Regions from separate parts of the Homo sapiens genome. Here region 2 is linked to region 1. Evidence: promoter capture Hi-C in 16 types of primary human blood cells and fetal thymus (Javierre and others, 2016). All regions are on one chromosome and are shown on one strand. Each heading gives the region's core, a stretch centred on a gene start or on the middle of the fragment in contact. The rest is flanking DNA. Distances are from core to core; before and after follow the strand shown. Region 1 holds the start of MIR210HG (MIR210 host gene). Region 2 holds the start of TALDO1 (transaldolase 1).

Region 1 (5,172 bases), core at 127-2,626:
TGTTGACATGAGGAAAGGCTGGGCTCCCTGAAAACATCCAGTTCCACAGCAGGGCGGGCCCAAGCCCAGCCAATCCCCAGGCAATGCAGGGCAGGGATCCCACCTGGTGTAAGTACGGGCAGAGGGCAGAGCCAGGCTGTATCGAGGGGCGGCGCTGGGACCCTCCTCGCCCAGAGTTCCTACTCATCCCCAGCACAGAAGTGCTCTGTAGGGCCAGCTGAGGACACCCCGGTTCACTGAGGGTGGCCCACAGTAAGTCGCCGTCTGGCAGTAAGTTAGCTCTGCAGGTGTGGACCCCAAGACCACACACAGCCTTTCTCAGGTGCAGGTCCTGCCAAGCCTCACTTCGCAGTGGTGACAGGCAACCCCGTCAGGGCAGGGAGCTTCCAAAGGCCAGTCCGAGTCCATGCCAGGCGTCCACTAAATCTGCCTCTCCCTCTCCAGCGAGCAGGTGCAGCCCTCAACTCCTGCAGGCCTGGGGAGCGGAGACAGGGCCTGTAGGCTCGGACACGACCCGGTCCTGATTTTAACAGTAGACTTGAGAAGGCAGGCTCAGCAGACAGGCTGCTGGAGGATCCACCCGCTGTCTCCCGCAGCGGCCCCACTGAAGCGGCAGAAACACACAGAAGCACCAAATCTGTCACTCTCTTCCCGTAGGAAGTCCCCAGAGGTGGCCCTCCGGAGGATGGTCCTGTTGGCTGAAGATATGACCACACCTGTGCCTGCCCAGGGCCACCTTCAGCTTGGCAACAGGAACTCCGCACACTGGTACCCTGGACACACAAGGAAAAGAAAGTTCCCTCCAAGAGGGTATCTGGCCCAGCCTCAGCCCCACCAAGCGGAGGGCAGCAAAGCCCCCGAATGATTTCGCTTACCCCCACCCGCCGTCCCTGCTGGCCAGACAGGCACACCCCGTCCATAGGGCACCCCCTCCCCACGGTATCCAGCTGCCCTCGCGTCCCCGTGTGGCCGCTCGCCTGCCCGCCAGACCCGGACACGGGGCCAGGAGGGTCGCGCTGCCCAGGCACAGATCAGCCGCTGTCACACGCACAGTGGGTCTGGGGCAGCGCAGTGTGCGGTGGGCAGGGGCTGCCCTGCGCCTGGAGGCACTGCCGGGTGGGCGGGCGGAGGGATTGACCCCACCCCCGTCCCCTCCAACTTGGGCGTCCGAGCCCCGCCGCGCCTGCCCAGCCCGACCCCCCGCAGCCCCCGCGGGAGGGCGGCCTCTGAGGGGCGCCCCGCCCGCCAACCTGGGATCCCTCGCGCGTCACCTGCGACCCCGGCGCGGGGCCGTCGCCGGCTCTCGGCCCAACTTCAGCTGCGGCCGCTGGCACCCTCTCGCCCCCCGGCCCGACCCGACCGGCCCCGGGCCCCGCGGCTCCACGCCCAGCCCCGTATGCAAATGACCTGGTCCCTCAGCCAATGGCCGGCCTAGCCGGGCCCGCCCTACCGCAACGCAGCCAGTGGGCGCGAGGGGGGTTCGCGACGCCCCGCCCACCGCCGCGCGGCCCTTCGCGGGCGAGGCCGGCGCGTTCTTTTCTGCACGTCTGCCCGGGGAGGGGCGGCACCTGCCGGGCGGGGCCTGCGGGGCGCCAGCTGCGAGGGCGCGGCGGGGCCAGGGCGCGTCCCCCGGCCGGGCGGATGGTACGGCCCGAGGTGGTCCTCCTCCCGCCGCGCGGTGGTATGGCCCGGGCTCGCGGGGCTTCCGGGCTGGGCGTGGGGCGCAGCCTGGCGACGGGTCCTCCGCCCGCGGGTGTGCGTGGGGCGGCAGGGCCGGCCGGGAGCTGCCCCTCTTCCCGCGGCGCGGTGGTACGACCCGGCCGCCTCCGTGCCCCGCACCCGCGTCCCGCGGGCCCGCCCCCCCCAACCCGCTGGGCGCCCGGCGCACGTATCCCGGGCCGTGACCCGGGTGGGGCCTGCGCGGGCCCGGACACGGCGTCCTCGGGACGCACGCACCACCCCCCGGGCGGCTTGGGGTCCCCAAAGGACGCCCGGGTCCGTCCTGCTGGCGAAGAGGGGGCTCTGGCTCTGCCTGGTTTGCCTGGCGACCCCCACGGGGCGCCCTTGGGGGCTCTGGGTCCCTCCTGCGCGCTCTGTCTCCGCGGAAGCCTCTGGAGCCTGGAGGGGGTGCCTCAAGGGCTCAGGGGTCTTCGCAGCCCTGTGCCGGTCTTTGAGGGGACGAGGCGAGAGAATCCTGTCTGTGCGCTGAAAACGTGTAAAATCAAAGGAGCCTTGACGGTTTGACCTTCGTTAGGACTCGCAGGGCCAGCTTCAGACGTGGAAGTATCGGACTCCGGGGTGGGGCTCCAAAGTGGCAGCCAAAGGAGATTTGGCCGCCGGCCCCCCTTGGCACTGTCACCCTGGTCCTCGGCCCCGGGCCGTCTCCCCTCAGCTCCCTGGCCCTAAACTCACCGCCCTGCTCTTTGTCCTCCCCTGGCCCCATGACCTCCCTGCCTCGGCATCCGCGCAGGCCTGGGCCGCAGCCTGCCCCCTGCCCCAGCCCCGGCGGCAAAGTGCTGGGGCCCCAGGGAGCTTCCGAACCAGCCCATGTCCTCAGGGGCTTGAAGGCTGGGGACAAAAATTCAGATGCAGAGTCTGGGGTGACTCAGACATGATCAGCAAGACATGACCGAGGTCTTGCTGACCCCTTGACCCTTGGCCCCCGATAGAACCGAGTGGCTCCTTGCACCTGTGGCTGCCTGTGGATGGGGAAGGTGCCCAGAGGATCACGGAGCCACTCGGTTCTATTGGGGGTCAGGGGTCAGCAAGACCTCGATCCTGTGGGTCGTGAAGGAGCCTCTAAGAGTCAGTGGGGTCCCTGAGAAGGCCCACGTCTTCATGGCAGGGCAGAGGCTCCTAGGGCAGTCAGACTAGGGGACAAGAAGGGGCAAGAGGACAGGGCAGCTCTGTGTTCCTGTCGTGCCCTGCTGACGTGAACCCACTTCTGCCCCCAGTCCTGCCAATTTCACAGGCACCTTTTCTCAGCATCTGTAGTGAGTGGGATGGTCCCTCCGCCAAAAAGAAGATATATCCACATCCTAATACCCAGGCTTCCTAAATGTGCCCTCATCGGGAGAAAGCATCTTTGCAGATGTCATTAAGGGAAACATCTTGAAACGAGATCATCCTGGACTTTCTGGGTGGGCCCTAAATCCAATGATCAGTGTCCTTATAAAAGACAGGGAAAACAGGCCGGGTGTGGTGGCTCAAGCCTGTAATCCCAGCACTCTGGGAGGCCGAGGTGGGCAGATCACCTGAGGCCAGGAGTTTGAGGCCAGCCTGGCCAACATAGTGAAACCCCATCTCTACTAAAAATACAAAAAAATCAGCCGGGCATGGTAGTGTGAGCTTGTAATCCCAGCTACTTGGGAGGCTGAGGCAGGAGAATCGCTTGAACCTGGGAGGTTGGCAGTGAGCTGAGATCACGCCACTGCACTCCAGCATGGGCAACAGAGTACGACTCTGTCTCAAACAGACAAACAAAAAACACAAAAAAAGAGAGAAGGCCGGGCGCGGTGGCTCATGCCTGTAATCCCAGCACTTTGGGAGGCCGAGGAGGGTGGATCACCTGAGATCAGGAGTTCGAGACCAGCCTGATCAACATGGAGAAACCCCGTCTCTACTAAAAATACAAAATTAGCCGGGCGTGGTGATGCATGCCCGTAATCCCAGCTACTCGGGAGGCTGAGACAGGAGAATCACTTGAACCTGGGAGGTGGAGGTTGAGGTGAGCCGAGATCGCGCCATTGCACTCCAGCCTGGGCAACAGAGCAAGACTCCGTCACAAAAAAAAAAAAAAAAAAAAGGCTGGGCGCGGTGGCTCACGCCTGTAATCCCAGCACTTTGGGAGGCCGAGGCAGGCGGATCACGAGGTCAGGAGATCGAGACCATCCTGGCTAACACAGCGAAACCCTGTCTCTACTAAAAATACAAAAAATTAGCCGGGCGAGGTGGCGGGCGCCTGTAGTCCCAGCTGCTCGGGAGGCTGAGGCAGGAGAATGGCGTGAACCCGGTGGGCGGAGCCTGCAGTGAGCAGAGATTGCACCACTGCACTCCAGTCTGGGCGACAGAGCAAAACTCTGTCTCAAAAAAAAAGGAGAGAAAGAGAAAAGAGACACAGACACAGAGGGAGGCCATAGGAAGCCATAGCCAAGGAACGCCTGGAGATGAAGCTGGGAGAAGAAGGACCTCCCCAGATCCTCAACAAGGAGGGTGGCCCTGCCAGCCTGGATCTCTGACTGCTGGCTTCCAGACTGAGAGAATGCCTTTCTGTTGTCTAAGGGCTCTGGTTTGTGGCCGTTTGATATGACAGCCCTGGGACACACAGACACCTGCCTTCCCTAGGTAGAGAATGCAGCCCTGCCTGTTCCCTCCCCCAGCTCTGAGAGTTTTGACTCCTTTGTTCTCTCCCCACCCACCTCCTCCAGCCACCCCTGCCCCTGCCTCCCCCAGGCATCCACCTGGCTCTGGGGCTCCCTGCTGCTGGGAGTGGGATGGGTCTCAGCAGGGGGCGATGACTGGGCTCATTGCCCACCAAGCCCTGTATGTGCACACGGACCTGATGGTGGGGTGGGGGGCAGGGGTGGGAAGGGGCTGGGCTAGGCCCTCCGGGATAAGCTGGCCTGGCGGGACAGAAGCAAGGGAGCTCCCAGCCCAGCTCCATCCTCCCGTGCACACCAGGAGCATGCACACCATGCTTGCGTCTGCAAGGGGCAGGGGCAGCACACGGCAGTGTCGACCAGGAATCTGGCCGGAGCCTCAGAGTACAGGTCTGTGTGAGGCTGTGTGGGCAGGATGCACATGTGTGCACACTGACACTAGCAGGTGATGGGGGTTGGGGGGTGACCCGTCAGTGTACGGGGGAGGTGACAGTACTGATGAGGGGGTTGTATACAGGAGGTGTCTGCCTGCTGGTGTGTGAGGCATCTATCCACGTGCGAGCAGGTAAGGAGTCATTTTATGTCAGGTGTGTGGGTAGCGGTGGGGGTGGGAGTCAGGAGGTATTGGTATGTGCCCCTGCTCTCATGCTCTCAAGTACCACCTATGCACAGTTTGGGCCTAGTTTGGCTCTGGGCAGCTGCCTGGAGATACTTCTCACACCTGAGCCTGAGTGCTGTCTGACATACCTGGGTTGGTTGTGCACTGACCAAGGATTATGCTCACTGAGGACGT
Region 2 (5,283 bases), core at 2,483-4,982, 180 kb after region 1:
CAGCAGCGCATGGGTGTTCCTGGAGCTCCATGTCCTCACTGGCACTTGGTGTTGCCAGTCTTTTGTTCTCACTATGATCCATGTGGACAGATCTCATGGTGGTTTTCATTTGCATTTCCCTAATAAATACTGTATACCACCAAGCTTGTCCAGCCCTTGGCCTGCAGGCCGCATGTGGCCCAACACGAATTCGCAACCTTTCTTAGAACATGAGATTTTTTATTTGCAATTTTTTTTAAGCTCATCAGTTATTGTTAGTATATTTTACATGTGGCCCAAGACAGTTCTTCCAGTGTGGCAAGGGAAGACAAAAGATGGCTACCTGCTCTATACCTTCTTCTGTGATGTATATTTCCTATTTTTGCATTTCAATGGAGAGAAGAAAGTCCTCTCAACAGATGCTGGAACAGGTGGAGAAAAACTACTTTCCATATCCAGGTCACGGAGACAAAAATAAAGGGGGCCAGGCGCGGTAGAGAAAAACTACCTTCCACTTCTAGGTCACAGAGACAAAAATCAAGGGGGCCCTGTGCGGTGGCTCATGTGAAACCCCGTCTCTACTAAAAATACAAAAAATTAGCCGGGCGTGGTAGTGGGCGCCTGTAGTCCCAGCTACTCGGGAGGCTGAGGCAAGACAATGTCATGAACCTGGGAGGCGGAGCTTGCAGTGAGCCGAGATCGTGCCACTGCACTCCAGCCTGGGCGACAGAGGGAGACTCCGTCTCAAAAAAAAAAAAACAACAAAAAAAAAACAAACAAACTGGAGTGGCCTCAAAGACTCTTAACATAACAGCTGAAAACCAAGACATCATAAGAAAATATTTTTGAGGCCGGGCGCGGTGGCTCACGCCTGTAATCCCAGCACTTTGGGAGGCCGAGGCGGGCGGATCACGAGGTCAGGAGATCGAGACCATCCTGGCTAACACGATGAAACCCCGTCTCTACTAAAAATACAAAAAATTTAGCCGGGCGAGGTGGCGGGTGCCTGTAATCCCAGCTACTCGGGAGGCTGAGGCAGGAGAATGGCGTGAACCCCAGGGGGCGGAGCCTGCAGTGAGCCGAGATTGCGCCACTGCACTCCAGCCTGGGCGACAGCGAGACTCCGTCTCAAAAAAAAAAAAAAAAAAAAATATTTTTGTTGGCTGGGCGTGGTGACTCACGCCTATAATCCCAGCACTTTGGGAGACTAGGGTGGGCGGATCACGAGGTCAGGAGATTGAGACCATCCTGGCTAACACGGTGAAACTCTGTCTCTACTAAAAATACAAAAGTTAGCTGGGCGTTGGCCGGGCGCAGTTGCTTAACACCTGTAATCCCAGCACTTTGGGAGGCCGAGGCAGGTGGAACACGAGGTCAGGAGTTTGAGATCAGCCTGGGCAACACGGTGAAACCCCGTCTCTACTAAAAATACAAAAGTAGCCGGGCATGGTGGCCCATGCCTGTAATCCCAGCTACTCGGGAGGCTGAGGCAGGAGAATCGCTTGAACCTGGGAGGCGGAGGATGCGGTGAGCTGAGATCGCGCCATTGCACTCCAGCCTGGGCAACAAGAGTAAATCTCCATCTCACCAGAAAAAAAAAAAAATTTGTCACTTTGGAGCAAGCAAAGACTCCTTAGAGAAGATACCAAAAAAGAGGAGTAAATATAAAATTAAAACTTGATAAATTGAACTTAATCAAAATAAAAAGCTAACGTTCATTAAAGACACTATTAAAATGAAAAGGGAACACATGCTGAGAGGAAGTATTGAAACCACCTTTGCAAAATTATAACTAAGGAAATTATGACAGTGAAAGATAACAGACTTAACCAATTCCATCTTGTTTCTAACCTTCAAACGGTCCTTGTCCATTACTGGCCATAGGCCAAACAAGTCTTGGGAAGGAATTTAATTTATAGTTTAAATAATAGCCCTTCCCCAAAACTAGACTGTTCTTGTAAAATGAATGAAAGGCCACCAGCCACCAAGTTAGAATGAGAGGGGCTGGAAGTCTAAATATTATCAGCCATTATTCTGGAGGTCATAAGATAAGATTTGCAACTTCCCCAAGATATCAACACTACTGTGAACCTAGGGTTGGCCTTTTTTTTTTTTTTAAATGGAGTCTCGTTCTGTAGCCCAGGTTAGTGTACAGAGGGACAATCTCGGCTCACTGCAACCTCCACCTCCCAGGTTCAAGCCATTCTCCTGCCTCAGCCTCCCAAGTAGCTGGGATTACAGCCATGTGCCACCACGCCTGGCTAATTTTGTATTTTTAGTAGAGACGGGGTTTTGCATGTTGGCCACGCTGGTCTCCAACTCCTGACCTCAAGTGATCGCCTGCTTTGGCCTTTCAATGTGCTGGGATTCCAGGCCTGAGCCACCGCGTCAGCCTAGGATTTGCCTTTTAAGAAGTCTTTTCCGCCGGGCGCGGTGGCTCACGCCTGGAATCCCAGCACTTTGGGAGACTGAGGTGGGCGGATCACGAGGTCAGGAGATCGAGACCATGCTGGCCAACATGATGAAACCCCGTCTGTACTAAAAATACAAAAATTAGCCGGGCGTGGTGGTGAGCGCCTGTAATTCCAGCTACTCGGGAGGCTGAGGCAGGAAAATCGCTCGAACCCGGGAGGCGGAGGTTGTAGTTAGCCAAGATCGCGCCACTGCACTCCAGCCTGGGCAACAAGGGCGAGATTCCGTCTCAAAAAAAAAAAAAAGTCTTTTCAGGTTTTTGCATTTCTGACAACCGGATGGCCCCACCTGGACCTGCCAACCAGTTGTGTGGCCTCTACCCAGGGACTGACTCAGCATAAGCGGACAGCTTCGACTCCCTGTGATTTCATCCCTAGCTGACCAGTCAGCACTTCTGACTCACTGGCCCCCTACCCACCAAATTATTCTTAAATACTGGGATCCCCGAGTTTTGGGGAGACTGATTTGAGGAATAAAACTCTGGTCTCCCGAACAATCGGCTCTGTGTGAATTATGCTTTCTCTATTGCAATTCCCCTGTCTTGACAATAGACTCTGTCCCGGCAGCTGGCAAGGCGAACCCATGGGGCGGTTACAGTGTCTGCAACGCAGACACAAGCGACAGAGACTTGATCAGAATATACAAGGAACTCTGCAAGTCAGCGATGGTAAGAAGCAGGGCAGCTGGGCCTCCTACGCCTGCCTCGCCGTTCGGTCCCCCGGACACCTCTGGGCTTAGGACTCAGGGGAACAGATTCCCAGAAGCAGGTTCCCCGCCGCGTCCGGCGCCCGGGCTCTGCAGCCGCCCCCTGCTCTGCCTCCTGCACCCGCAGGGCGTCCCCCGCCGCTCCCTCCCCTGCTTCCTGCAGCGGCCCCCGACCCCAGTCCTGGCCCCACCATGGATCCTGCATCGCCGGGTTCGGCCCTGGCGGGTTCAGCCCCGCAGAGTCGGCACCCGGGCCAGGTCCATCTCCTCCAGCCCTCCCGGTGCGTCCCGCGGGGCAGGAAGGAGGCGAGGCCCAGCCGCCCCGTGTCGTGCAGGTGTTTTCCCGGGCCCGTCCGCGGCGGCTGCTGAGGACCTGGGGAGACCCAGCCTGTAGGATCCGCAGCTGCGGTGCGCGGCCGGCAGTGGCGCTCGGGCTTCGTCCCCGGGGGCGGGGCTTCGTCCAGGCGCGCAGGGACCAGCGGGCCTCGCCCTCCCGCGCCGCTTTCCGATTGGCAGCCGCCCGCGGGGCATTGTGGGCCGTCCGCGCGCCCGTCCCGTCGCCGCCGCCGCCGCCGCAGACCCCTCGGTCTTGCTATGTCGAGCTCACCCGTGAAGCGTCAGAGGATGGAGTCCGCGCTGGACCAGCTCAAGCAGTTCACCACCGTGGTGGCCGACACGGGCGACTTCCACGGTGAGGACGGCGCGGAGCCCGGGCGCGGCGCAAGCGCCCTCCAGAGGCCCCGGCGCCCCGATTTCCCCGGGTCTCCCGTTCCGGGACGCGGACCGGGTGGCGGTGCCCCGGGCGGCTCGTTCCGGGAGGAATGAGCGCAGGTGCCGGATGTTGGGGCCAGGGACAGCCGTGAGGGGAGCGGGGCCCGGGTCGGCCGTGAGAGGCGCAGGGCCAGCGGCGACCGTGAGGGGAACGGGGCCCGGGTCGGCCGTGAGGGAGCAGGGCCGGGGGCAGCCGTGAGGAGCTGGGGTCAGCCGTGAGGGGCTCGGTGCTGGGGTCAGCGGTGCGGGCGGTACTGACGGGTCCTTGCGAGCCGTGGGGCACGAAGCCGGAGCCCCAGCCTCGCCCTCCGCCCAGGGTGGGGTCGGCTGCGCCCTCAGACCCCGCACCCGGGACGGGCTGTGGGCAGCCCGCGGGAGCCCCTCTGTGCACCTTCATGGGTCGAGGCAGCTTTCAGAGCCTTTGAGTTCAGGAGAGATTCAGGGTAGAGCTTCGAGCTGACTTCCACGTGGCCAGTTTGTGGTCAGCGAGATGCAATTTTGTTGGGCTGATGTCTGCAGAGCGGGGACATCAGCTAGCTCTGACCAGAAGCTGCCAGTGCTGCCATCGCCCTTGAGCCCTGCGGTGCCCAGTGGGACAACTCCGTGGGCGGCAGGTGCCCGGCCTGCTGGACAGCCACCGCCAGACGCACCGGGTGGGTAAAAGCCGGTGCCCATGAAAGCACAGGGTTGGTACACTGTTAAATACTGGATTTTCCTGGGCTTGAGTTGTTTACATTGGAGAGAACTTGGAAAATACAAAGAAGGATTATTTATTAATACTTAGCTCTTCTGTCCTCTGCAGTGCAGAGTAGACGAGCCTTGTGTCTATGTTTTGTTGAGAACAAGTAATATTTTTTAAGAAAATCATGAAACGCTTCATGGATGAATGCTGCGAGCACCTAATACGGAAGTGACTTCCTCTCTTTTCTGCTTTCTCATGGTGACTTGAGAAACAGGCTTTAATTCCTCTTTGGTAACTGAGTAAGGGCATTGTTTATCTAGCAGAGCCTAGAGAGTGAATTGGCATGTTTGGCTGCTTAACCATAAAATATGGGGATTCAGTGACTGGCTTGGGGTGCCACAGTCTGCTCCGGACCCCTCTTTGGGAGATCCAAAGCTAGAGCTGTGAATCCCTCACACACACAGCCCCCCCGTTGTAGTCCAGACCTCTCTTCATAAGAAAGAAAGCTCCAGAAAAGGGGCTACACATTTTTCTGCTGCTCAGTTTTTTCCCTTCTTAGCACTGAGAATAATTTGCAGTTTGCCTGGTGGACAGAGCGCTCATCTGTATTGTTCCTTACTGGCCCTCACCAGTTAGGGCAGAGCTGGTGCGGAGTGTCAGGTCCATTACACTTG

The links. The method cuts DNA at HindIII sites, captures the fragments that hold promoters and counts their contacts. A CHiCAGO score of 5 or more calls a contact.
Region 2: the fragment with the promoter of TALDO1 here is called in contact with the fragment with the promoter of MIR210HG in region 1 in 1 of 17 cell types (naive CD8 T cells); the score reaches 5.3 in naive CD8 T cells.

What each region holds. Positions count from the first base shown.
Region 1 is chr11:567,081-572,252 of GRCh38, forward strand. MIR210HG (MIR210 host gene) reads right to left here and starts at 1,377. Exons shown (of 2, transcript NR_038262.1): 1 at 1,272-1,377; 2 at 1-773. It overlaps MIR210 (microRNA 210), which reads right to left and starts at 1,118; the gene lies at 1,009-1,118. LOC124902805 (translation initiation factor IF-2-like) reads left to right here and starts at 4,514. Exons shown (of 4, transcript XM_047428004.1): 1 at 4,514-4,564. The coding sequence starts at 4,514. RefSeq lists an enhancer at 2,309-3,059. The HindIII fragment of the contact is 23,407 bases long and covers 1-5,172 here.
Region 2 is chr11:743,732-749,014 of GRCh38, forward strand. It overlaps TALDO1 (transaldolase 1), which reads left to right and starts at 3,733. Exons shown (of 8, transcript NM_006755.2): 1 at 3,733-3,847. The coding sequence starts at 3,751. It overlaps LOC105376509 (a long non-coding RNA gene), which reads left to right. Exons shown (of 3, transcript XR_930962.3): 3 at 3,018-3,231. RefSeq lists enhancers at 1-638, 2,717-3,365, 3,004-3,063, 3,366-4,014 and silencers at 3,194-3,793, 3,854-4,143, 4,244-4,333. The HindIII fragment of the contact is 13,110 bases long and covers 143-5,283 here.